Regions from separate parts of the Homo sapiens genome. Here regions 2, 3 and 4 are each linked to region 1. The links are contacts of gene promoters, found by promoter capture Hi-C in blood cells and fetal thymus (Javierre and others, 2016). All regions are on one chromosome and are shown on one strand. The core of a region is centred on a gene start or on the middle of the fragment in contact, and the rest is flanking DNA. Distances in the headings are between cores, read along the strand shown. Region 1 holds the start of TAF10 (TATA-box binding protein associated factor 10). Region 2 overlaps PPFIBP2 (PPFIB scaffold protein 2). Region 3 overlaps PPFIBP2 (PPFIB scaffold protein 2). Region 4 holds the start of PPFIBP2 (PPFIB scaffold protein 2).

What was found. The method cuts DNA at HindIII sites, captures the fragments that hold promoters and counts their contacts. A CHiCAGO score of 5 or more calls a contact.
Region 2: a fragment that was not itself captured here is called in contact with the fragment with the promoter of TAF10 in region 1 in 1 of 17 cell types (M0 macrophages); the score reaches 7.0 in M0 macrophages.
Region 3: a fragment that was not itself captured here is called in contact with the fragment with the promoter of TAF10 in region 1 in 1 of 17 cell types (M0 macrophages); the score reaches 5.1 in M0 macrophages.
Region 4: a contact is called between a fragment that was not itself captured here and the fragment with the promoter of TAF10 in region 1, in 1 of 17 cell types (total CD4 T cells). The highest score is 6.7, in total CD4 T cells.

Annotation. Positions count from the first base shown.
Region 1 is chr11:6,610,533-6,614,658 of GRCh38, reverse strand. TAF10 (TATA-box binding protein associated factor 10) reads left to right here and starts at 2,443. Exons shown (of 5, transcript NM_006284.4): 1 at 2,443-2,701; 2 at 2,841-2,995; 3 at 3,207-3,271; 4 at 3,356-3,470; 5 at 3,648-4,126. The coding sequence starts at 2,470. The coding sequence ends at 3,737. TPP1 (tripeptidyl peptidase 1) reads left to right here. Exons shown (of 13, transcript NM_000391.4): 13 at 1-1,891. The coding sequence ends at 113. It overlaps ILK (integrin linked kinase), which reads right to left. Exons shown (of 13, transcript NM_004517.4): 13 at 3,789-4,126. The coding sequence ends at 4,048. RefSeq lists enhancers at 1,967-2,016, 2,067-2,196, 2,652-3,239, 3,240-3,828 and silencers at 2,487-2,586, 2,597-2,796. The HindIII fragment of the contact is 6,165 bases long and covers 1,552-4,126 here.
Region 2 is chr11:7,575,988-7,582,189 of GRCh38, reverse strand. The region is part of intron 3 of PPFIBP2 (PPFIB scaffold protein 2); the gene reads right to left. LOC105376535 (a long non-coding RNA gene) reads left to right here. Exons shown (of 4, transcript XR_007062579.1): 3 at 781-930. Among named protein-coding and RNA genes, the nearest start is that of PPFIBP2, 65 kb to the right of the region's middle. RefSeq lists an enhancer at 3,868-3,947 and a silencer at 4,018-4,252. The HindIII fragment of the contact is 1,428 bases long and covers 2,653-4,080 here.
Region 3 is chr11:7,529,937-7,536,138 of GRCh38, reverse strand. All of the region lies in intron 1 of PPFIBP2 (PPFIB scaffold protein 2), which reads right to left. All of the region lies in intron 1 of LOC124902806 (leucine-rich repeat extensin-like protein 5), which reads left to right. Among named protein-coding and RNA genes, the nearest start is that of PPFIBP2, 19 kb to the right of the region's middle. RefSeq lists an enhancer at 4,835-5,004. The HindIII fragment of the contact is 3,655 bases long and covers 1,755-5,409 here.
Region 4 is chr11:7,512,531-7,518,732 of GRCh38, reverse strand. PPFIBP2 (PPFIB scaffold protein 2) reads right to left here and starts at 4,734. Exons shown (of 24, transcript NM_003621.5): 1 at 4,612-4,734. It overlaps LOC124902806 (leucine-rich repeat extensin-like protein 5), which reads left to right. Exons shown (of 4, transcript XM_047428005.1): 2 at 4,128-4,615; 3 at 4,693-6,202. The coding sequence ends at 5,523. RefSeq lists enhancers at 2,104-2,153, 5,839-5,958 and a silencer at 4,639-5,168. The HindIII fragment of the contact is 2,352 bases long and covers 1,856-4,207 here.

The DNA.
Region 1 (4,126 bases), core at 1,194-3,693:
TGGATGAAGAGGTAGAGGGCCAGGGTTTCTGCTCTGGTCCTGGCTGGGATCCTGTAACAGGCTGGGGAACACCCAACTTCCCAGCTTTGCTGAAGACTCTACTCAACCCCTGACCCTTTCCTATCAGGAGAGATGGCTTGTCCCCTGCCCTGAAGCTGGCAGTTCAGTCCCTTATTCTGCCCTGTTGGAAGCCCTGCTGAACCCTCAACTATTGACTGCTGCAGACAGCTTATCTCCCTAACCCTGAAATGCTGTGAGCTTGACTTGACTCCCAACCCTACCATGCTCCATCATACTCAGGTCTCCCTACTCCTGCCTTAGATTCCTCAATAAGATGCTGTAACTAGCATTTTTTGAATGCCTCTCCCTCCGCATCTCATCTTTCTCTTTTCAATCAGGCTTTTCCAAAGGGTTGTATACAGACTCTGTGCACTATTTCACTTGATATTCATTCCCCAATTCACTGCAAGGAGACCTCTACTGTCACCGTTTACTCTTTCCTACCCTGACATCCAGAAACAATGGCCTCCAGTGCATACTTCTCAATCTTTGCTTTATGGCCTTTCCATCATAGTTGCCCACTCCCTCTCCTTACTTAGCTTCCAGGTCTTAACTTCTCTGACTACTCTTGTCTTCCTCTCTCATCAATTTCTGCTTCTTCATGGAATGCTGACCTTCATTGCTCCATTTGTAGATTTTTGCTCTTCTCAGTTTACTCATTGTCCCCTGGAACAAATCACTGACATCTACAACCATTACCATCTCACTAAATAAGACTTTCTATCCAATAATGATTGATACCTCAAATGTAAGATGCGTGATACTCAACATTTCATCGTCCACCTTCCCAACCCCAAACAATTCCATCTCGTTTCTTCTTGGTAAATGATGCTATGCTTTTTCCAACCAAGCCAGAAACCTGTGTCATCTTTTCACCCCACCTTCAATCAACAAGTCCTCAATCAACAAGTCCTACTGACTGCACATCTTAAATATATCTTTATCAGTCCACAAGTCCTTCCAATTATATTTCCCAAGTATATCTAGAACTTATCCACTTATATCCCCACTGCTACTACCTTAGTTTAGGGCTATATTCTCTTGAAAAAAAGTGTCCTTACTTCCTGCCAATCCCCAAGTCATCTTCCAGAGTAAAATGCAAATCCCATCAGGCCACTTGGATGAAAACCCTTCAAGGATTACTGGATAGAATTCAGGCTTTCCCCTCCAGCCCCCAATCATAGCTCACAAACCTTCCTTGCTATTTGTTCTTAAGTAAAAAATCATTTTTCCTCCTCCCTCCCCAAACCCCAAGGAACTCTCACTCTTGCTCAAGCTGTTCCGTCCCCTTACCACCCCTGATACAACTGCCAGGTTAATTTCCAGAATTCTTGCAAGACTCAGTTCAGAAGTCACCTTCTTTCGTGAATGTTTTGATTCCCTGAGGCTACTTTATTTTGGTATGGCTGAAAAATCCTAGATTTTCTAAACAAAACCTGTTTGAATCTTGGTTCTGATATGGACTAGGAGAGAGACTGGGTCAAGTAAGCTTATCTCCCTGAGGCTGTTTCCTCGTCTGTTAAGTGTGAATATCAATACCTGCCTTTCATAATCACCAGGGAATAAAGTGGAATAATGTTGATAACAGTGCTTGGCACCTGGAAGTAGGTGGCAGATGTTAACGCCCTTCCTCCCTTGCACTGCGCCCCCTGTGCCTACCTCTAGCATTGTAACGACCACGTAGTATTGAAATGGCCAGTTTACTTGTCTGCCTTCCTTTCCAAGACCGTTGGTGCCTAGAGGACTAGAATCGTGTCCTATTTAACTTTGTGTTCCCAGGTCCTAGCTCAGGAGTTGGCAAATAAGAATTAAATGTCTGCTACACCGAAAACCTCACGCCTCTCATTCGTTGTGATTTTTGCATATGTTGTTGACTCAGGCTGAAACTCCTCCTCCTCCTACAGCAGCACTGTGTGCCGCCCCACTGCTGCCCCCACCTCTCGGGGCAGCTGGCGGAGAAGAGAGGGGGCTTTCCAAATCCACTATGAATCCTTAAAAGGCTGAATAAGGGAACTTGAAACGATGCAGACAGGCAGGCAACCCGTAGTCGAGGGACATAGGGCCATAAACGTCGAAGCCAGGTCTTGAGCGTCAGACAGAATGAGGTGTCCCAGAGCGGCGGAGGAGAGCCAGACGCACGCTGGTTCCGGTCTGGACGGAATCGCCGCGGAGCACGGCAGAGGCTAGGGCGGAATGGCTACGGCAGCGCAGTTCGCCAAGGCTCGGTCTCCGCCCTGCAGCCTATTTCCTCTAACCCGCAGATCCACTATGGGAGGAGGCGGGGAGCGGGCTGGAGAGCACTAACAGAGACAGGCGGGGCGAGTCGTGGGCGCGTGACGTCACCCCGGGGTGTGCGCGGCGCGAGCGGAAGCGGAAGCGGCTCTGTTCGCCGCCTCTCCCACCGGCCCGATGAGCTGCAGCGGCTCCGGCGCGGACCCCGAGGCGGCGCCGGCCTCCGCCGCCTCGGCCCCGGGCCCCGCGCCCCCGGTCTCGGCTCCCGCCGCGCTGCCCTCCAGCACCGCCGCGGAGAACAAGGCCAGCCCCGCGGGGACAGCGGGGGGACCTGGGGCTGGAGCAGCTGCTGGGGGCACGGGACCCTTGGCGGCGCGGGCCGGGGAGCCAGCTGAGCGGCGTGGGGCGGGTGAGGGCCGGGACGGGTGAGGGCGAGGGAAGCGTCTTGGGCTGGGTCCAGCGGCGGGTGAGGGCAGAGGGTATAGACAGACCTAGCTGGGGCCCTGCGCCTCCCACCTCTGTGTCTCATTTTGCTGGTTCTCCTCCAGCTCCGGTGTCGGCGGGTGGCGCGGCGCCCCCGGAGGGGGCCATATCTAACGGGGTTTACGTACTGCCGAGCGCGGCCAACGGAGACGTGAAGCCCGTGGTGTCCAGCACGCCTTTGGTGGACTTCTTGATGCAGCTGGAAGATTACACGCCTACGGTGGGCTTCCGCCCGAACAAGGCCACCTAGCCTGCTGTCAAAACTTTCAGCCACATCGTGCTTTTCAGCGTTCTCTTCCATTTGCTCCCCTAGTCGCTCTTCTGTGTTTGCCCTCTGCTCACCCAAACTGTGAGCTTCCTGATAATCAGGCCTATCCATTTCCCTCACCCTCCTCCCGCTCTGCTGACAGTTCTCTTAATTGATTTCTCAGATCCCAGATGCAGTGACTGGTTACTACCTGAACCGTGCTGGCTTTGAGGCCTCAGACCCACGCATGTGAGTAAACCCAGGGCAGGTTAGTTTTGGGTGCTTGTGCAGTATGTTGTCCATCTCCTTCTCATCTAAGTTTTTTCTCTCTAGAATTCGGCTCATCTCCTTAGCTGCCCAGAAATTCATCTCAGATATTGCCAATGATGCCCTACAGCACTGCAAAATGAAGGGCACGGCCTCCGGCAGCTCCCGGAGCAAGAGCAAGGTGTGAGGGGAGGCTTAATGAATCAGTAATTACCTTCCACAACAGTGGAGGCTTATCCTGCCACCCCTTTGGGGAAACTGAATCGTAGGGGAGGTGTAAGACTTACTCAGGGTCACCCATCTGGGATTGAAGTCCGGGATTCCTGTGCTCAGTTGGTGCTCTTCCCTCTTCCCTCAGGACCGCAAGTACACTCTAACCATGGAGGACTTGACCCCTGCCCTCAGCGAGTATGGCATCAATGTGAAGAAGCCGCACTACTTCACCTGAGCCACCCAACCTAAATGTACTTATCTGTCCCCATGTCCCCACACCAGCCTGTTTTCATAATAAACTTTATTGTGACAGGCGGGGCTGATCCCTCCCATGTTGGGAGACACCATGTGGCAAGTGACAAAGCTCTGAGCCCGCCCCTCTTGGGGCCACAGTGGTAGGGATGGGGGAAGGGGATGGACCCCATGGCTGGGGTAGTACCATGACTGGAGGCGGGGGAGGCAACCAGAGGCCTGCTGCTTTGGGGAGGTGCATTCCCCCAACCATGTCCCGACACCTCTGGAGTTCAGGCAAGGACCTTCCAGTCCTACTTGTCCTGCATCTTCTCAAGGATAGGCACAATCATGTCAAATTTGGGTCGCTTTGCAGGGTCTTCATTCATGCAG
Region 2 (6,202 bases), core at 2,117-4,616, 970 kb before region 1:
ATAACTCTAACACTTATAAAGTGCTTCCTAAGCACTTAACATACATTGAATTGGCTGGGCACGGTGGCTCACGCCTGTAATCCCAGCACTTTGGGAGGCTGAGGCGGGCGCATCATCTGAGATCAGGAGTTCGAGACCAGACTGGCTAACATGGCAAAACCCCATCTCTACTAAAAATACAAAAAATTAGCTGGGCATGGCGGTGTATGCCTGTAATCCCAGCTACTCGGGAGGCTGAGGCAGGAGAATCGCTTGAAGCTAGGAGAAGGAGGTTGAAGTGAGCCAAGATTGTGCCACTGCACTCCAGCCTGGGTGACAGACCTAGACTCTGTCTCAAAAAAAAAAAAATCTATCTATCTATCTATCTATAGAATTGTTTATCCATATATATAATCAAGGAAATTGAATTCTAGGAAGGTTAAATAAATTGCCCAAGTCTACACAGAGGTGAGATATGAGCCCAAGGAATCTAGATCCAGGATCCATGCTCTTAACTAGTAGGAACAGCCTTCACAGAAGCTGCTGCCTATTTCTGTAACTTTCACTGCAGTCCAACATGAATGCAAGGCAAGTCAGTGTCTGGAGTGAGGAGACCTCCGTGTCTGCCTTTGCAGCTCTTCTGGCCCAAGTGGCCAGGCTACTAGATCAACCATTTGAGCACCAGATGACACAGAATAAAGTCTCACATTAGCAGCTTGAGTTAATTCCACTTTTTACTGCAGAACCTGAGCCAACTGCATGGGGGACCTGTAGTGATTCCATTTTCTTTGTGACCTACAGTTGGAATTTGCTTAAGCACTGAGAGTGCTGGAAGCCAGGAAGCAGTGTGAAGATGCTGACAGTCTGGGATTTCTGTTCCTGGGAAAATGAACTCTTGCCGAAAGAGCAGTGGGTGGGTCCCACAGACCCTGCTCGGAGCTATTTTTAGAGGTGTGTTCATGGTTGTGTGGGTTGGATCCACTGGACTCAATGTAGAACAGGTGTGAGCTGTTTGTGACTGAGTCCCTCTGGATACTTGTGGCAAGAGACTACCTTATCCCTAGGCTTTGTCTGTTAGGAGAATGAACTAGAGCATCAGCCCTGATCAGCCTTCACTCAGCAACCACAGCCAAGCTGGCCAGATCCAGCAGCCAATGAGGCCTCTGGTCACCTATGGTGGCCCAGGTTGCAGCTGCCTTTTCTAGGTCTTCAATATGCTTGGTTTGAGACCTTGATCTGGAGTATGGGAAGGGTCATAAAGCTGAAGCACTGAATGGCCTGAGAGGCAATTCTAGGAGAGAACCTGGTTCCATCTGTTCCTCTTTCAACTTCTCCCTTCCTGATAATCACCAATAGCAGTTAATAGCAAGCATGTTATTGAGTATTTCCTACATGCATGATACTGCACTAATCGTACTATCTTACTGAGTCCTCATAAAGCCTGTATGTGGTAGGTACTATTATCTCCCTTATTTTATAGTTAAAGAAATCCAGACTTTTGAGATAATTTACCTTGGATCACACAGCTGGTAAACGTGGCAATGCCAGGATTCTAATTCAGGCCTCACTCCAGACTCCATGTTCTTAACTGTAATATTAATAGTATATACTATCCCATCCCACACAGGCCCTGGAGCAAGATTTCTTTTCTGAGCAAATATTTCCCCTCCAGCTCCATGCCTCTCTGAACATAAGTATCTCCCCTTTGCCCTGAGACACCACCACCTTGGACTGCTCAAAGGGCAAGGGCTCCTGCTCTGGCACCAGGAACCTCTTCTTCCAGAATCTATGCCCTCTGTAAAGGAGAATGAAGACGATAGTGTTTCTACCTTCAAAAGCATGAGTTCAGAGAAACCAGCTCTCCACACCACCTCAGCTGAAGCACAGGAGAAAGGGTGGGTGAGCCATGCAGATGGGAAGTGCTGCAGACCTGGGCTACAGGAGGTGGGGAGGGAGGGCCAGCAGAGGTTTCCTGGGAAAAGACAGCCTGGATGGAGTCAGTTGAAGTGGATGAGAGTTAGAGAGGAGGTGGTCATCTGTGGTAAAAGCTCAGAAAAGGGAAGAAATACACTTGGGAGCTCATCAGGGTAGATATAAAAGATAAAACTAAAAAGGTAAGTTGAGGTTGGGCTGCTAATGGTCTCAAAGGCCAAGCAAGCCGAAGGGCCTGATTTTTCTTCCAGATTAAGGGTGAGTCCAGGGGGGCTCATCACTGGGGTCACAGGACGAAAGGGAATTTGTTTTTTTTGTTTTTTTTTTTAAGAAGATTTTAAAAATCTGGCAGTAGTGTTTAGGGTAGAGAATAGTGAAAATACTCTTATCACACTGCCAATGACATGTCTACACTTTGAGTTTTGCTTTTGTAAAATGCTCTTTAAAATTCTAAAAGTAGAAGAAAAATATCTGTTTTGCTATGAGTCATCCTGGGGGTTTCTAAAGTCTCCTTGCTTAAAGTTTCCCTAAGCAAACTTCCAACTGTCCACAGGAGCCAGCATACCCTGGGTCTTGGGACAAGAAGGGCCTTCTTACATTGCATCACATGCAAAATTAGTTCCTCCACACACATAACTTCTCCTGTAGCAGGCAGAGTTACAGTATCTGCCCCAGGGGCTGGGACAAGGCTCTGACAATCCCAGGCACATGTTGGCTGAAAGGATTTCTTGATTAAAAGCTTCATTTGGGATACAGGGAAAGAAGGACCAAGTGATGGTCAGTGCATTTCTTACATATTTCCTTTCAGTATCTCCCCAGTGGGGCTTAAAAAAAAAACCTAAGATGATGCAAACCTTTGCCAAAACGTCTGGTCATCTCAGCATGCTTTCTGGTGACTGTGATGCCCTAGGGGCTGGGCACAGACAGGATTTCTGCTGGGTTCTAAAGCAATAATTTTATACATATTTGGCAGAGAAAATGAATAAAGAGAACTAGACTGGGAGATAGAGAACAGGGTTCAAGACCAGGCTGCACCACTAATAGCTATGACACTAATACCATGAGGTTCTTAGCCCCTCTTGGGCTTTGTTAAATGAGGGGTTTGTACTATCCCATCCCTCCAAGCCCTCCAGCCCTATAATTGTGTTCAGTTGCCTCACTTTTCCCAACATAGCTTACCATATACCACATCACAGCTAGAGTAATTTTCTTAAAATACAAACTAGACCCCCCCCAATGTATCCCATGTCACTTCCCTGCTACAAGTCCCCCAGCACACAAACCAGGTTGCCCAAAAGCCTTACCGTGGCCTTCACTGTCCTGCGTGATCCCAGCCTCTGCCCGCCTCTGTCTGCCATCACTGTGCTCAGCCACATGGGCTCTCTCTCAATCTGGACAATCAGCAGACTCCATCTTGCTTTAGGACCTTTGTATATACATCATCCCCTATGCCCCATTTGCCTGGAATGTTCTTCACCCCATTCTTCACCTGACTCATTCTTACTGCTCTTTCAGTTTTCAGCGAAGTATAATTTCCTCAAACTCCCTGACCGCCCCAACCCCCTTCTCCATCAAAACAGCAGTCCCGTGTCTTCTGTTCTTCCTCCAGGCACACTTATTGTTTGTAATCTGAGGTTTATTTCCTGGGACTGTTTCACCTACATCTCCAGTATTAGGTAGAAGATCCACAAGAGGCTGGTTCTATTTTGCTCACTACTATACACCCAGTACCCAAACTCAGTACAGATTTGCTGAATGAGTGCTGCTGCACTCACACAAAAGCCAGCCAGCTCAGTGTCCGGGAGTCGGGGTCCGGGCATCTGCATGCCCCTTCCAAGCTGGACACTTCCTGGTTCTTCTGTCCTTCTGCAGTTACAATGTCAAATCTCTAACCTGTCAGCTGCTTTTGCCCTTCCTGCCTCTGAAAAACACTCAGCCTAAAATCCCTTCGTGTGAAAATAAATTCATACCTATCTTAGCCAATTTAAAGGCAGCCACAAAAGAGGAAACAGCCTGAATTCTAGGAGTATGATGCTACTCCAGCCCCCAACGTCCGTTCATTCCTTGCTCATACCACACACTCAGGTTTATCCTCTAAAGAAAGGGCATGAACAACTTGCAACATAAACCCTCAGCTTCAGAGCATTCAAAGAGAACTCCCTGAAAGCTTTCCTCCGGAAATGCAGAAGCTCATTCTGCTGACAGCAGATGTGTGCTCCACCGGATAACATCAGAGTGAGAACGAGTTAAACAACTTCCGAATCCAATGCATTTAAAAAGGCAGCAGCTTCCTCCCTGTGTCCTCAAACTGAAAAGCGGTGGGCACATTCTTCTGGTCACGGTGTTTGGAGCCTCTGACTGTTTAGGTGCCAAAGTTAAAATAACCAACTTTCCTCACTCCATTCTTGCCTTTCTGTACAGAGGCTCATTCACTAGAATGTCAGTGGAGAAACAAAGACAGCTGACTGTTTTCTCCCTGGTGTCTATAATTAGATTCTCATGAAGAACTTGGCCACAGCAGGGCTTTGCTGGACAATACCTCCCCCTACCACACACAGGCACACACACCCCAAAACACCCCAAAGCGTCTCCCCCTCACTTATCTCCACGGAGACCCAGACAAAGCAGCCAGTCACTTACCCTCTTCAGCCACGAGAAATGCTTGTAAACATCAATGTCCCCATCCATGCTGGGCACCCATGTCAGCAGTTAGATGCCTTGGTGGAAAAAGCCCTTTTCCTGGCTGGAGACCAGTTCTCTCCTCTTCCTTGCCTCTGCCCCCTCCCCCCTCAAGAACTCCAAGCTGTGTTCAAATTTCCCCACTTCCCTGGCCTGCGTCCTTCAGCCTCTCCCTAGACAGTTTCAGACACACAGCGACACAGAGCAGACCGTGCTGCTTCAGTGTCCTCCCCGACCACCCCAACAAACACACACACACACACACACACACACACACACGCACATACATGCACGCACACGCACCAGGACTGGGATTCAGAGCCCTGCGGAGAAATCAAATGTCACACAAAGGTAGAGAAAAAAGAAAGAAGACTTGGACAGAAGTTGTAAACATGACACACACGCACACACACACGGGACCATTCTCAGTGATAATACCGGAGCCTGCCAGAGGGAAACAGTCCTGAAGAAAATTCCTTGTCTGGCTTCCCCCTTCTGGAGTGGCTGGAACTCATTACTGAGAGCCCCGATTTCCTGTCTCTGCTTCACTCTGCATTTACCCAGGGCTCCCAGCTGCTCTCAGTTTATTTGGGACTGGGGAGAAGACTAAAAATAAGTGCTGCTCTTGGAGGAGCTCACTGGTTCCCACACACAGCCTGACCCCCGCCCTGAAGCCCACGCCCACCCATTTTCCAGGCGAGTGACGGGCTGTGCCCTGAGGAAAGCCTGTTGTTTCCAAAAAAAAGCAGCTCCAGTCTGGGTTCTTGGTCCTGCTGTGCGACGGGCCCAGCACAGAGCGTTTGCTGTCCTTGGCACTGGTGGTACCATCCATTAGAGACCAACTGCCGCAAACTCAGGGGAGTCTGGCCCTGGACTGTTGGCCACCAGCCAGGGCACCCTGGGGGCCACATTCTGAACAGGGGCCAGGGCTGGAGGGTCCTGCCTCTCTGGCTGTCCCCCACTCTGGGCTACCTGCTTTACAAACCAAGGAGGTGGAAAGGTTGAGGCTGCTTCACGTGCATTTCCATGAGACTCAGGGAGCAGTGCTGGGTAGACAGGGGCCTTGGAAAGGCTGGCGGAGACCTGGAGCTGCAGCTGTTTTCCTCCTTTCAGGGCAGGTCACATGCAGGCTCTCCAGGTGGCCCCTCCAGCACTCCCTAGATGCCACCCCCCACCTCCTCCTATTCCCATCTCCTTTGAGAGCTCCCCACTAAAAACAGCTTTTCTCCCTTCCCCAGCCCTTAATGTGTGGCCTTTGGCTATGGCTGATTATCAAAGTGACCTTTGATGTGGGTGCGGTGGGAACTGTGGTTACACGGTGGGAACTGTGGTTACACGCAAGGCCCCGAGCTCTGCTGTGGCAAAGGACTTGCAGATGCACAGCTTGTGACTGCCTGGGCCTTCCCAGTTCCCTTGGGGGTCACCTCCGGGGTTTCCTGGAACTCCCAGTCTGAAGAGCAGTCCTTCATGCCCCTCATGCCGCATGCCCCTCAGCATGGCTTCAATGTCCACCAGGGCCAGAAGCAGGGCCCAAAAGGGGAGAAACAATGCCTGGCAGCACAGTCCCCGGCAGGCTGGGCCAGCCCACAGAGATCACAGAGGCGGCAAGGAG
Region 3 (6,202 bases), core at 2,333-4,832, 920 kb before region 1:
CTCTGTGCCTCGGGTTTCTCATCTTTAAGATGAGGATAATAATAAAACTGCCTACCTGAAAGGGTGGTTGTGAAGGTTAAATGTTAACAGAGTAAAGCGCTTAGACTCGCCATCAGTCAGCGTTTGCTCTAGTGCCTTCTTTGGCATCTCATCAGTGGTGACACTCTCCTCCTCTGGCATTTGGGAGAAGCGCTCTCCGGGTCCCTCATTGAACTATGCAGCCTGCATTCACCTGTCATGCTTCCCCACCCTACTCCCCTCCCGTGTGAGCCACCAGGTCTCTGTGGTCTCCCCTTGCAGGGATGCTCTTCTCCATCTCATCCTTTCCACTCCTACTGCCCAGACTGTGTTCAGGTATTCAGAACCAGGGCACTGGAGAACCTCCTCTCACCTGAGTAACACCTGGCCTCTCCCACAGCAGTCTGAACGCATGAGCTGGCATCCAAATTGGAGCCGGCCCGAAAATGTCCTGTTCTCATGATGGTAGTTATAATGGCTGCCATTTATTAAACACTCACTTCTACACTGAGCTAAGTTCTTATGTTTATCTCATATCTCAATATTTATAACTATTATTATCCCGATTCTACAGATAAGGAAACTGAAGCTTGGAGAGGTTAAGTGACTTGGTCAAATCACACATCCAGGAAGCAGTAAAGATAAGATTTGAATTCAGGCAGTCCAACTCCAAGGTTATGTTCCTAACCACTACGCTGGACGCACTTCCTCACTGAGCCTGACCTGCTCCTGGGTTCCTGATACCCCAGCCGCAAGAGAGCATCCTTATGCCACTGTGCCTTTGTCATGCTGTTTCCTCAACTAAAGGCCCCTTCCCCAATCTCTGTCCATCAAAACTAATTTTTCAATGCTCAGGCAAGTTTTCTCTATGACAGCATCCCCACCCCTGCCTGTTGAAATGAATCTTGGCTGAGACATGGGCTCCCACCTCCATTTAGTTTCTGCTTCATGTTGTCATGGGCAAGACCCAATGGGAGGATACTAACTTCCTCTCTTTCCAGGATTTCCTCCCCTGGGAAACAGCTCAGTATCTGATGGTGGAAATGAAAGAAGGAACTGAGCATGTGCAGCTCAGCCCATCCTCCCCTCTCCCTAGAGCCACCTTGGCAAAGGAAGTGGCCTGCACCAGAAAGAGCCTATGAGGTCCCATCAGGGCCTGTAGTGATGCACCTGCAATGCACATGGTGCCTTCTATTTGAGAGCATGGCTCCCCAGCAACCTGCGGATGATGCTGTAATTCATTTTGCCAGGTGGGGTAAGGCCAGGAAGGCGGTCTGGGAAAGCAGGCATTTGCGTTGTGGCCACTGCACAATGCCTGCCAGAGTAAATTAAATTGGTGTCTGGCTTATGGACCAGCCTTGTCAGGTTGGTCAGTGTGAATTAAGCTCTGGGCAACAAGCCCCTCCCAGTGAATGGATAAGGGTGTCTGACCTGTGGTAGTCCTTACCTCCATTCTCTCCCCTGTCCACACCACACCTGCCCCCACAGCAGACAGAGAGCCTCATGCCCCTGACAGGACCCGGTTGGCAATGTGCCTCCTCAGCCCCAGAACTTACCCTTCAAGGGAAGCTACCCTCATTTTCCTTCTTACAGCAAAGAACACACATGCATACACACAATTTACCTCCAGGGAGGAACAAATGGACGTGAAATTATTTCATTGCCTCAACCAGATCATAAACAGATTCAGAGAAATGCTTCAAATGCAACCTCAAAGTGAATATTTCCAAAAAGCTTCATCTCAAAAATTGCCCCCCTAAAAAATAATACAAGCAAGAGGTTAAGCTAAATGATGGGTAAGAGGATGCATTTTACTATTTCTATTTCTGTGTACATTTGAATTCTTTTTATAGTAACAGGCTAACACAAAAAACCAAACCACCACCTGGGGATGTGGACTTTTCAGGGCAGGGGGCAGAGAATTCTACTTTCCCTTCCAGCAGAACTGAGATTTGAACCTAAGTTCCTGATGACTCATTTGGTGCTCTTTCTACAGTGCCATTCAAACTCCCTGAATAGGTCCTAACATTCCACCAAACTCTCCTTACCTCTCACCTCACCACAGTTTAGAACCTCATCATCTCTCAGCCAGATTGCAAAAGCTGCTTCCTCTGGGCTTTCTACCTCTAGCCAACTTCCCTGCAATCTGTCTTTCTTTCCCTGTGCAGGCAAGACATGTTCCATGGAGCTCATGACATGCTCCTCTGCTCTCAAACATTCCTCGGCTTCACAGTGCTTTCAGGAGAGAAGCTGCATTTTGCAGCTCTGCCAAAGTCCTCTAATACAGTTAACCTTCCCCGCTATAGTCCTCACCACTCTGAGTTCCAGCTTCACTGGACCACGTCCTACCCTCGCATACAGAAATACCCCATTTTCTGTACTTCCTCTACGTGGGTGCTTTTCTCCATCTCTACTTTCAAATCCCACCCATGCTAAGGCCTTATCCAAATGACCACTGCCAGAAAACCTTTCCTAACACCATTACCCCTCATCCCTGAAGGTGCTGGATGCCTCAGCTCTGCTCCTGTCATATCTGGTACACACCTTTATCGTCAGAGCTGTCTATATTATTTATGAAGATGATAATAATTTGTATTATTTCTCAATGTGTCTGCCTCCCTGTCTAGATTAACTGCTAGAGAGCAAGGAGTATGCTCCATTCACCTTTCTATCCTCAGAGCCCAGCAAAGAACCTGGCACAGGACCTTCAGTAAATGTTTGTTGACACAAAATGTTAAGTGTTTGTGTACCTGAGTGGAAAGTGAAGGGAGGCTGGGCATGTAACCTTGGCCAGCACTCTGAAAGAAGGATTGGGGGCTATCCATGACAGCCTCTCTCATCGAACTTTCTCCACACCTGGGGTCCCTTCTCTCTTACAGCCAGATATTCAGAGGTGAAAGCGTCTCTACCATAAGGGGAACTTACGCTTGGGCCTGGCATGAGTGAGAGACATAACTGATGGATGCAATTGTATTCCTGAAGGACCAATGAGAAAAAAGGATGTCACTTCCCCTAATAGATAATAAAACCAGGCACTTCTCCCTATTCCATTATTTTAGAATGCTAAGCAACAACAACAAAAAAAAACAGATATGAATTGGTAAGTTTTCTCTATTAGCTGGAGCGTGCGTAACTTTTGCCTATAGCCAACTCCCTCCTACGAGCCTCCCTGGCTGCCTGCTGAGGAATAGGCCCCAGAATTTGGCAGGCTGGAGGTAAACACTAATTGAATTAATCAAAATGTATTCTGTAATTTGAGCCTTCATTTCAACATTTGTTGAACAGTTTAATTTTGATTCAATGCAATGCTTTTCCCCTTGCAATAAAAAAAGTTAAGTCAGTAGAAGACCAAAGAATTTCTTTAAAGACAGGCCTGTGTGCACTGTCAACAACAGCCTGGCCTCTGCCTCCATCAGAGGAGAAGGAGGCTTCCCCCGAAGGCCTGGGCTGGAGGGTATTAGCAGCTCTGTGTTCACTGGAGTTCCGAGGGCCACACGGGAGCCAGATGAAGACACTGCACAGAAACTACTGCTGCCAGAGAGCCTGACTACAAGTAAACAGCTCGGCCTGGAGCTGAGCCTTTGGACGAGGCCAGTCAGGCTTCCTCCACTAGCTAGCTGGGTCCACCATCCTCTCCTGGTCCCAAGGTTGGCAGGATCAGTAGTAAGTGCCTCTCCATGCTTCACCATGACACTGAGCCTTGTTCAATGAGGATTTTGGAAACACCCTGTTATGAGCTGAATTGTACCCACACCCTCAAAATTCTTATGTTGAAGTCCTAACCCCCAGTACCTCAGAATGTGACTATATTTGGAAATAAGGTCTTGAAAGAGGTAATTACATTCCAATGAGATAATTAGGGTGGGCCCTAATCCAATAGGTGGTGTACTTAAAAGCAGAGCAGATTAGGACACATGGGTACAGAGGAAAGACCATGTGAAGACAAAGGGAGAAGACAGCCATCTAAAAGTCAAGGAGAGGCTGGGCATGGTGGCTAATGCCTATAATCCCAGCACTTTGGGAGGCCGAGGTGAGTGGATCACTTGAGGCCAAGAGTTCAAGACCAGCCTGGACAACATGGTGAAACCCCATCTCTACTAAAAACACACACACAAAAACTAGCCAAGTGTGGTAGTACATGCCTATAATCCCAGCTCCTCAGGAGGTTGAAGCAGGAGATTCACTTGAACCCAGGAGGTGGAGGATGCTGTGAGCCAAGATCGTGCCACTGCGCTCCAGCATGGGCAACACAGTGAGACTCCATCTCCAAAAAGAAAAAAAAAATTAATAAAAAATAAATAAAAGTCAAGGAGAGGCCCCAAAAGAAACCAACCCTGCCAACACCCTGATCTTAGAGTTCTGGCCTCCATAATTGTGAGAAAATAAATTTCTGTTGTGTAAGCCCCCCAGTACTTTGTTATGGCAGCCCAAGCAAACTAACACACACCCCCATTTGATCCTACACACGCAGCTGGGAAAGTTATGGGAAGAAGGCAGCCTCCTCTCCAGGGCTGTCGGCCTCTATCCTGACCCACTGGTGTTCCCCTTCCCTCTTAATCCAGGAGAGACTTTCTTCACATCCTCAGACCTTAAACCACATCAAGGTAAGCACAGTTCCCAATATTCCTTTATCTGTATTCTTTGTAAGTCAGCTCTAAGTCGAATCCCACCTCTGGACCGAGACCATTTAGTGAGGCCAGATTTTAGGATGCTACAAAGAGGAAACCCTAAGATCCTGCAGCCTGACCAGATGTCAAGCTGCATTCAAGGGCCAAGAGCCCTGGGCCCAGCTATCTTCAACTCAGTTCAAAAGCTCCAGCATGTGGGGAGGCAGGGGAAGGGTTGGTCCCTAACCTTGGCTTGCCAGTCACAAGATATTTGCCACTTGGATCACTTCCCTCCCCTAAGAGTTCAGAGGCCAGAAAGTGGTTTAGGGACTTTCCCAAGAAAAGTGATCTAGGAATCCCCCACTTGCACAAGTGTTCCTGCAGGCCAAAGACAGGCCTGCTGGAGAATGACACTGTACTAGGTAGCCCCTTCCCTGCAGGCCCAAGTGGTTTTGCTCCTGGAAGTTTGTTAGCTGGACTCCAGGGGAGTGGGAAGGTCTAATGATCTCCTGGGACCTCTCTCCCATCTTTCTCAGCTCTTCCTTTCCATAAAGCAGAGTCTTTATTCCCCTATAGAAGATACCCAAACAGTTCCTCAGAATCAAAGGAAAAAGTGAAAATTACAGAGGTCTATGTGACTCCAAATGGCCACAGAAGGGGTAGTATAGACGCTGGGTCCCCATACCCCCAGCCTCAAGCCTTCTGAGGCTCCTTTCTTCCCAAGTGAGGTGCTTCTTCCCCTGAAGAAAGAGAGGAGCAGCATGCAGCAGAAAGAGCCCAAGCTTTGTCTTAGTCTGTCCAGGCTGTTTTAACAAAATTACCATAAATTGGGAAGGTAGCTCACAAACAATGGAAATGTATTTCTCACAGCTATGGAGGCTGGGAAGCCCAGGATCAAGGCACCAGCAGAGTCAGTGTCTGGAGCAGGATTGCTTCTTGGTTCACAGATGGTGCCTTCCAGCTATGTCCTCACATGGTGGAAGAAACCAGCTAGTTCTCTGGGGCCTCTTTATAAAGGAACCAATCTCAAGCATGAGGGCTCCACTCTCATGACCTAATCACCTCCCAAGGCCCCACCTCCTAATACCATCACTTTGGGGATTATATTGCAACATATGAATTTTTAGGAGACATAAACATTCAGACCATAGCAAAGTCAGACAGATTTGGGCTTAAATCCTTGCTCCACTACTTATGAGCTGGATTCGTTTTTTGCCTTGGGTAATATGGACATTAACCTCTCAGGTTACTATGTAATGGATATAATATCTGCCTTACACAGGGTTAGTCAGAGGGTTAAGAAAGAGGACAGAATAAACTACCCACCTCAGTGCCTGGCCCAGTAAGTATGTAACACTCTGCCTCTCCACATCAGAGAACATGTTCCCAACTGTACTATTCCAGAAGATGGATTTGGCCAAGACCCTTCATCAGGGCCTAAATGTTGGGATCAGGGTTAAAAAAACAACAACCATGATGTTGAGTTCCTTTGAGAAGTTGCCAAATCTCTTGCAGGTAGCCCCCAAAGTGGCAGACCCTGGGATACAGCAGCTCAAACAGCACACATGCTCCAGGTT
Region 4 (6,202 bases), core at 1,782-4,281, 900 kb before region 1:
TAACAAAAGACTCGGTTCATTTCCAGACGACCCTACCTCTTATATCAGGGAGTTTCAGTACCTTACCCAGTCTTATGAACTAACTTGGCATGACCTCTACGTTATCCCCTCTTCCACCCTCACCCCAGAAGACCAGGACTGTGTCTGGACCCTAGCTCAGGTGCATGCTGACACAATTCATCAACAAGCTCCTGCCAAGCCTACTGGTGCAGAGGCAGTCCCCAACCAGGACTCCCACTGAGATTATCAAGACAGGGCCTCTAGATGCTGCCATCGAGACCACACGATTATGTGTTTCCTTGCAGAACTCAAAAAGGGTGCCCATAAAGTGGTAAACTATGAAAAACTTCCAGAAATCACCCAAAGTCCTGACAAAAACCCAGCCCTTTTTCTCTCTCATGTAACTGAAGCCATGAGAAAATATACCAACCTAGACCCAGCCAACCCAGAAGGAACCACTATCTTAAACCTTCGGTTCATCTCCCAATCCATTCCCGATATTCGGTGCAAGCTTCAGAAGCTTGACGACGGCCCTCAAACCCCACAACAAGACCTTCTTAATTTAGCCTTCAAAGTCTTTAACAATCATGATGAGGAAAGTAAAAGGCAAAAACAGGCAGAGTTTCAAATGCCTGCCTCCGCCATCAGGGGCCCTGCAGGCCCACGGGGCCACAGCTCCACACAGAAGCCTCCTAGCAATCCACCTCCACCTGGCGCCTGTTTCAAGTACGGCAATGAAAGCCACTGGTCCAGACAATGCCCATACCCAGGTAAGCCCACCAGGCCGTGCCCCCTCTGCGGAGGACCCCACTGGAAGTCGGACTATGAGCGGCCCCTGCAGGGACCGCCCCCCATCCCTTCCTGAGCAGGCCAAAACCTCCTACTCGGATCTCATTTGCCTTGCCGCTGAAGACTGATGGTGCCCTGGAATGGATGCCCCGGCAACTACCATCACTTCATCCGAGCCAAGGGTAACCCTGATGGTTTTAATCAACATGGGTGACCTACTCTGCTTTACCTAATTTTTCAGGACCCACCCAGTCCTCCTAAGTCTCTGTTGTGGGAATTGATGGACAAGTCTCCTAACCCCGAGCCACCCCTCCACTTTTCTGCTTCCTGCACACCTTTTCCTTCACTCACTTTTTCACCCCAAACCTGGTCTCATTCCCAACTCTGCTCCTAGGCAGGGACATCCTTTCAAAACTCCACACTACTCTCCACTTCCACATTCCCCGTAGTACCCAACGCATCAACCCAGACCCCTCCGAGGCTTCTAGCTTTCTTCTGCTCCTCCAACCTCCCACCCTAAAACATGCAACCTTTCCTTACCCCTATCTGTAGTTAACCCCGCTGTTAGGGATATTTCCACACCCTCAGTTGCAAAACACCACACCCCTGTCCACATTACCCTTAAAGACCCCACACTATTGAAGCCAATCTGCTCCTCCCAGGCACCACCTCCCAAAAAGCTGAACTCATCACCCTCACTCGAGCTCTCACTCTAGCAGCCGGACAACAGTTCTCTAATTTAGGAGGATTTAAAACCCTGGTAGGGACAGTAATCTTCATCACTTTTTCTCCCCTGTGTTATCCCACTAATAATAAAAGCCACTAAAACTCTTATTGAAACTACAGTTAGCCACCAGACAATTCAGACTATGCTCCTGCTACAACGACACGATGGATACCAACACATCTCTCAAGAATACCCTAAAAATTAAGTTTTTCTTTTTCCAAGGAGCCCACACCACCCCTAAGTCACGCCTGAAGTAGTTATTGAGAAAGTCACCCCTTTTCCCTTTTTACTATAACCAAATAGACAGGAATGAAAGATTCTCCCCGGGGTCTGAAAGCTTGAAGAGATGAGTAACTCCTCCCTTCTCAGGCCCAGTCCCAAGGTGCAAGGCCAGTTGCGCCAGCAGTGTGCATCAGCAAGACAGCAGAAGCAGGAAGACAGCCGGCCAGAAGACACCTACCCTGGCTGGAAGACACGTACCCCTTGAAGACAGAGAGAGGGGCCGTCTGGGTACTGTGCAGAAGTTACATCAGACTGAGACACTTCTTGTTTACAGGAAACTATAAAACCCCTGCCTCGTCCTCACTTGGTGCTGACGCCATTTTAGGCCTCAGCCCACCTGCACCCAGGCGCTCGTTAAAACAGCACGTTGCCCCACACCGCCTCATGTTGTCTGTTGGCAGGCTCTCGGGGTTCGAACCAATACAAGAACCTTTCATAAACTTTACCTTAAACATTACAGTCTAAAGGCCATACCATTCCTCAGGCCCAAAGCTGAATCTTCCCAGCATTGTTTCTCCCTCCTCACTTCTCATTGCATCTAATCAGTCTAGAGACTGTCCCATTCCCTAGTCCTCTGTCCTACAGATTCTATCTCTCCGAAGTCTCCCTACCTGTCCCCACCTCATCACTCTCTCAGGCCCAAAATAAGGCCTCATCCCTTTGACCCTGGATCAGCCTCCCGGTTTCCTATCCGGCCTCGCCGCCCCCACTGTCTTTTTCCCTTGGAGTTTGCTTCCCACCACACTCCCAGAACTTTGCCATTGCAGCAGTTGCCTTCGGGTTTGTCAACAGAATCACCTGGGGGAACTTGGTAAAAACATCCCAGACTACTTAATCTGAACGTTTTACAAAACTCCCCAGGCGATTATGAGGCATAGCCAGGTTTGCAAACTGCTACTCTAAATCCTTGCTACACATAGGGAAATGATCAGCAAGCTCCTGGGAATCTGTTAGAAACACAGAATGTCAAGTCCCACCCCTGACCTATGGAATCATAATTTGCATTTGAACAAGATCCCCACAGGATTCTCAACTTTGAGAAGCTCTGCTCTACAGTGTTGTCAGACCATGCACTCCACAAATATTTACTGGATTTTCTCTGTATCAGGCTAGGAATTGGGAGGGTCAAGGACCAAGGTCTTTGACTTTGAGAAGTTCACAGAACCATCAGTCAGTCCCCTGCTGTGCCTTCAGACCAAGTCCAGACTTCTGTACTGGACAGCTGGGACTATTTTCCAGCCTTGTCACCAGCTTTCCTGACTAGCACTTGACATAAGAGCCAAGCTGGACCACTGGCCACTTCTCATGGTGAGTCCATGCCTGCCTGCCCACACAGTTGTCACAGCCCAGGCCACACTCTACCCTTCTCTGCCTCAAAAACCCCAGGAGGGATCCTTTGAGGTCCATCACATCACCCTTTCTTAAAATTATCCCAGATTTCCCTGCTCAGATGAAAGACAGGAATTCCCATAACTTTGTTCCTACCGCCTTCATGTCATTGATCTCATTCCACTTACTCTTTTAAAGTCAAAGCGCATCTCCCTTAGCTACCCAGTAAAGAAGGCATCATGGTAAGCAGCTTATCTCTCCAGTAGCAATAAGCTAACAACTGTCACATCACCAAATCTTAAAATAGTATTACTAATAATTGAAATATGTTAAATAAAACATGGATAAATGCAATCAGTGAAAACCTCATCAATCATCCCCATCTCCCACTTCAAATTTATTTAGCTATGAATTTAAGCAAAGTACAAATGGGTTGCCTCTCTTAAGCCAAAGAGAAATAATTTCTAAATTAGATAACACTTACAGCTTTCCATACACCTATAATAATGAAAGACTGAATATGCTGAAGATGAATTATGTCGAAAACCAACTACTTTTCTGTAGTTGACCATTTAACTTCACATAATACACTACAAATTTGAAAACACTTCAGATTTGTATTACAATCAATTAAGGAGGGGTTGAGAAAGGAGAGAGACGAAGAGAAAGACAGGAAGTAGACCAAAATATAGAAAAGGGACACGGATCTATACCAAATATCTGGCTGCTCTAAAAGTAAAAATATAATTAGATTCGTTTTTTAAGAAGATTAAACACTGGCAAGAATGCCTGTCTTAATCCTATCCAAACGCTGGAAGTTCTGTTCTCTTGTTACATAATCTTATTTTCATCCGAGGAAAAACTGCGGGTCTGGAATCTGATGTGATGAGGTGAGGAGGGAGCCCACTTTTAAATAGGACCGTCCCCATCCTGCAGTCTACTGGGACGCGGCGGCTTTAGATTTTAAAAAGTGTGCTGTATTTTTGCACTTACACTACAGAACTGGCTTTAGCCGAGGCCCTGCATCTAGACACACGCTGTGTCCACCAGAGAATTGCCTGGGCTGACAGACCTAAAGCTTCCGCAACCTCCTTAGGCTCCCTAGTCCACGCCGCTGCTCCCCGGGCTGAGCAGGGCTGGGACGCGCCGCACAGAACTCAGGGACCCCACCTCCCTGCGCATCTCCAGGGCCACGCTGGCACCTGCAGGAGTGCGGACTGTCCGCGGATCCCAGGCAGGGTTGGGTGGAGATTCGCAGCCAACCCACAGGAGTTCTGCCCTCCTCCCAGGCTTCTGGCCAGTGGAGTTGGAGAAGGGTCCCCGTCCTCGAGCCTGGGACACGCTCCGGGGCTCACAGAGACACTGACCCACACGTCCCCGTGGTTCGTAGCTCTGGGGGCGCTCCACTCCCTAGGTAATGCTCCCGACGGGGATCCCAACCCCGACCGCGCGGCAAGCCCGGGGTGTGGGGAGAGCCCACTGACCTGGGTACGGGGCCGAGGCTCCTCTCCGGGCGGCTCAGGTGTGCGGGCCGCTCCCGTGTCCCTCCCACCTTCAAACATGAGAGCCCAGAAGCGAGCGACGGGCCACTGGCCCACCGACCAACTGCCGGACCAAGCGCCCGACCAACCAGCGGACCGACCGCAGCGGCCGGGGCCGGCGCCCACGTGACGGGGCGGGGACCTGCGGAAGGCTCTTCCCGGAGCGCCGCGCCCCCACCCCGGGACCTGCCACAGGGACCACCCCCTTGGGCACCCGCTCCCTCTCGGGCACCGAAGAAGCCTGCTGGGACCCGTCCACCAGGGTTCCTGTTCCCGGGGGACCGGCCTGGTCAGCCCCGCCCCTTCGAACCTGCCTCGTCCCCACCCCCTGGGCCGCGCGTCCGGGCCCCAGCCCCGCCTCTCTCGGCGGACCGCGCCCCCTTCCGGGAGCCCCGCCCCGTTCGCCGCGCCTCCTCCTCCGCACAGCTCCGGTTGCGGGGAGGCCCGGGTGGGTACCCGGCGCTCCGGCTCCCAGTCTCCTGGGCTTCTCCAGTCCTTCAGCGCCGTTCTCCGGTCACAGGGAATGAAAGCGAGGAAGAAGGAAACGGTGTCGAGAATTGCGAAGAGAGAAAGCATAGAAAACCCACATTAGAGGCACTCCCAGAGCAGAAACCCTTCGGAGCATCCCGACTTCCTCGGCCCGCGTGCAATCCAGGCAAAATTGAGGTTGTCTCTGAGCCGCCCTCCCTAAGCAGGTCGGAAAGCCCCCGAATCATCCCAGGTCCCGCCGCGCTGCACTCGCAACCTGGGGTGGAGGTCCCTCTAGTGGTTGGCACCAAACAAAAGTTCTGTCTTATGAAGAGCCGAGGTCAGGAAGCATTTCCCTGTGCCCAGCGCCAAGGTCTGGGACCTTAGGTCCAAGAAAAGCGTTGGCAATGTCTGACCACAGGAATGGGTTCTCGAACTGGGGAGGACTGAAGCTGGAGATCTGGTCCAGCCCCTACCTCCAGCGTGTGGCCTGAACCCGTTTTGGTTGTACTGCTATGTTGTGGCCCTGCCCAGGCCTCCAAGGACTGGCTGCTGTTAAGCTGTTTAAAATCCCTGTAGGCCTCAGATGGCAGCGACACCAGGGACTCGGCATAGTCCCCAGCTCTGGCAGGAGTCACCACAGCCCTAGCCTTTAGTTCTCTACAGGCTGGAGTGTCGACAAACTCCACAGGACACAACTTTTTCAAACCAAATTTACCCTCGCGGTCTGAAATGACCAGTAGGCCCAGGAGAATTTTACATGTGAACAGAACCTAACCCACCCTGGCAAATATGAGACGTGTGGTCACTGCGGGAACCTGGCCAGCAGCAGACCAAAGCACAGCCAGCAGGGGAAGGCTGGGGCCCGCAAGAGTTGTGTTACAACAGGACACCCTTCAGTTCTCTTTCACTTCCTTAAAATAGCAGCAGAGCGACTTTTGTAGACGCAGGCTGCCACAGTTCACACAAGGTCATGGCTGTTTCCGAATCCCACCCTTTATTGCCCTAGCGGAGCCACTCCCCTTACCTCCGCCCCCAGAAACTGCTAGCCTGTTCTTAAATTGAT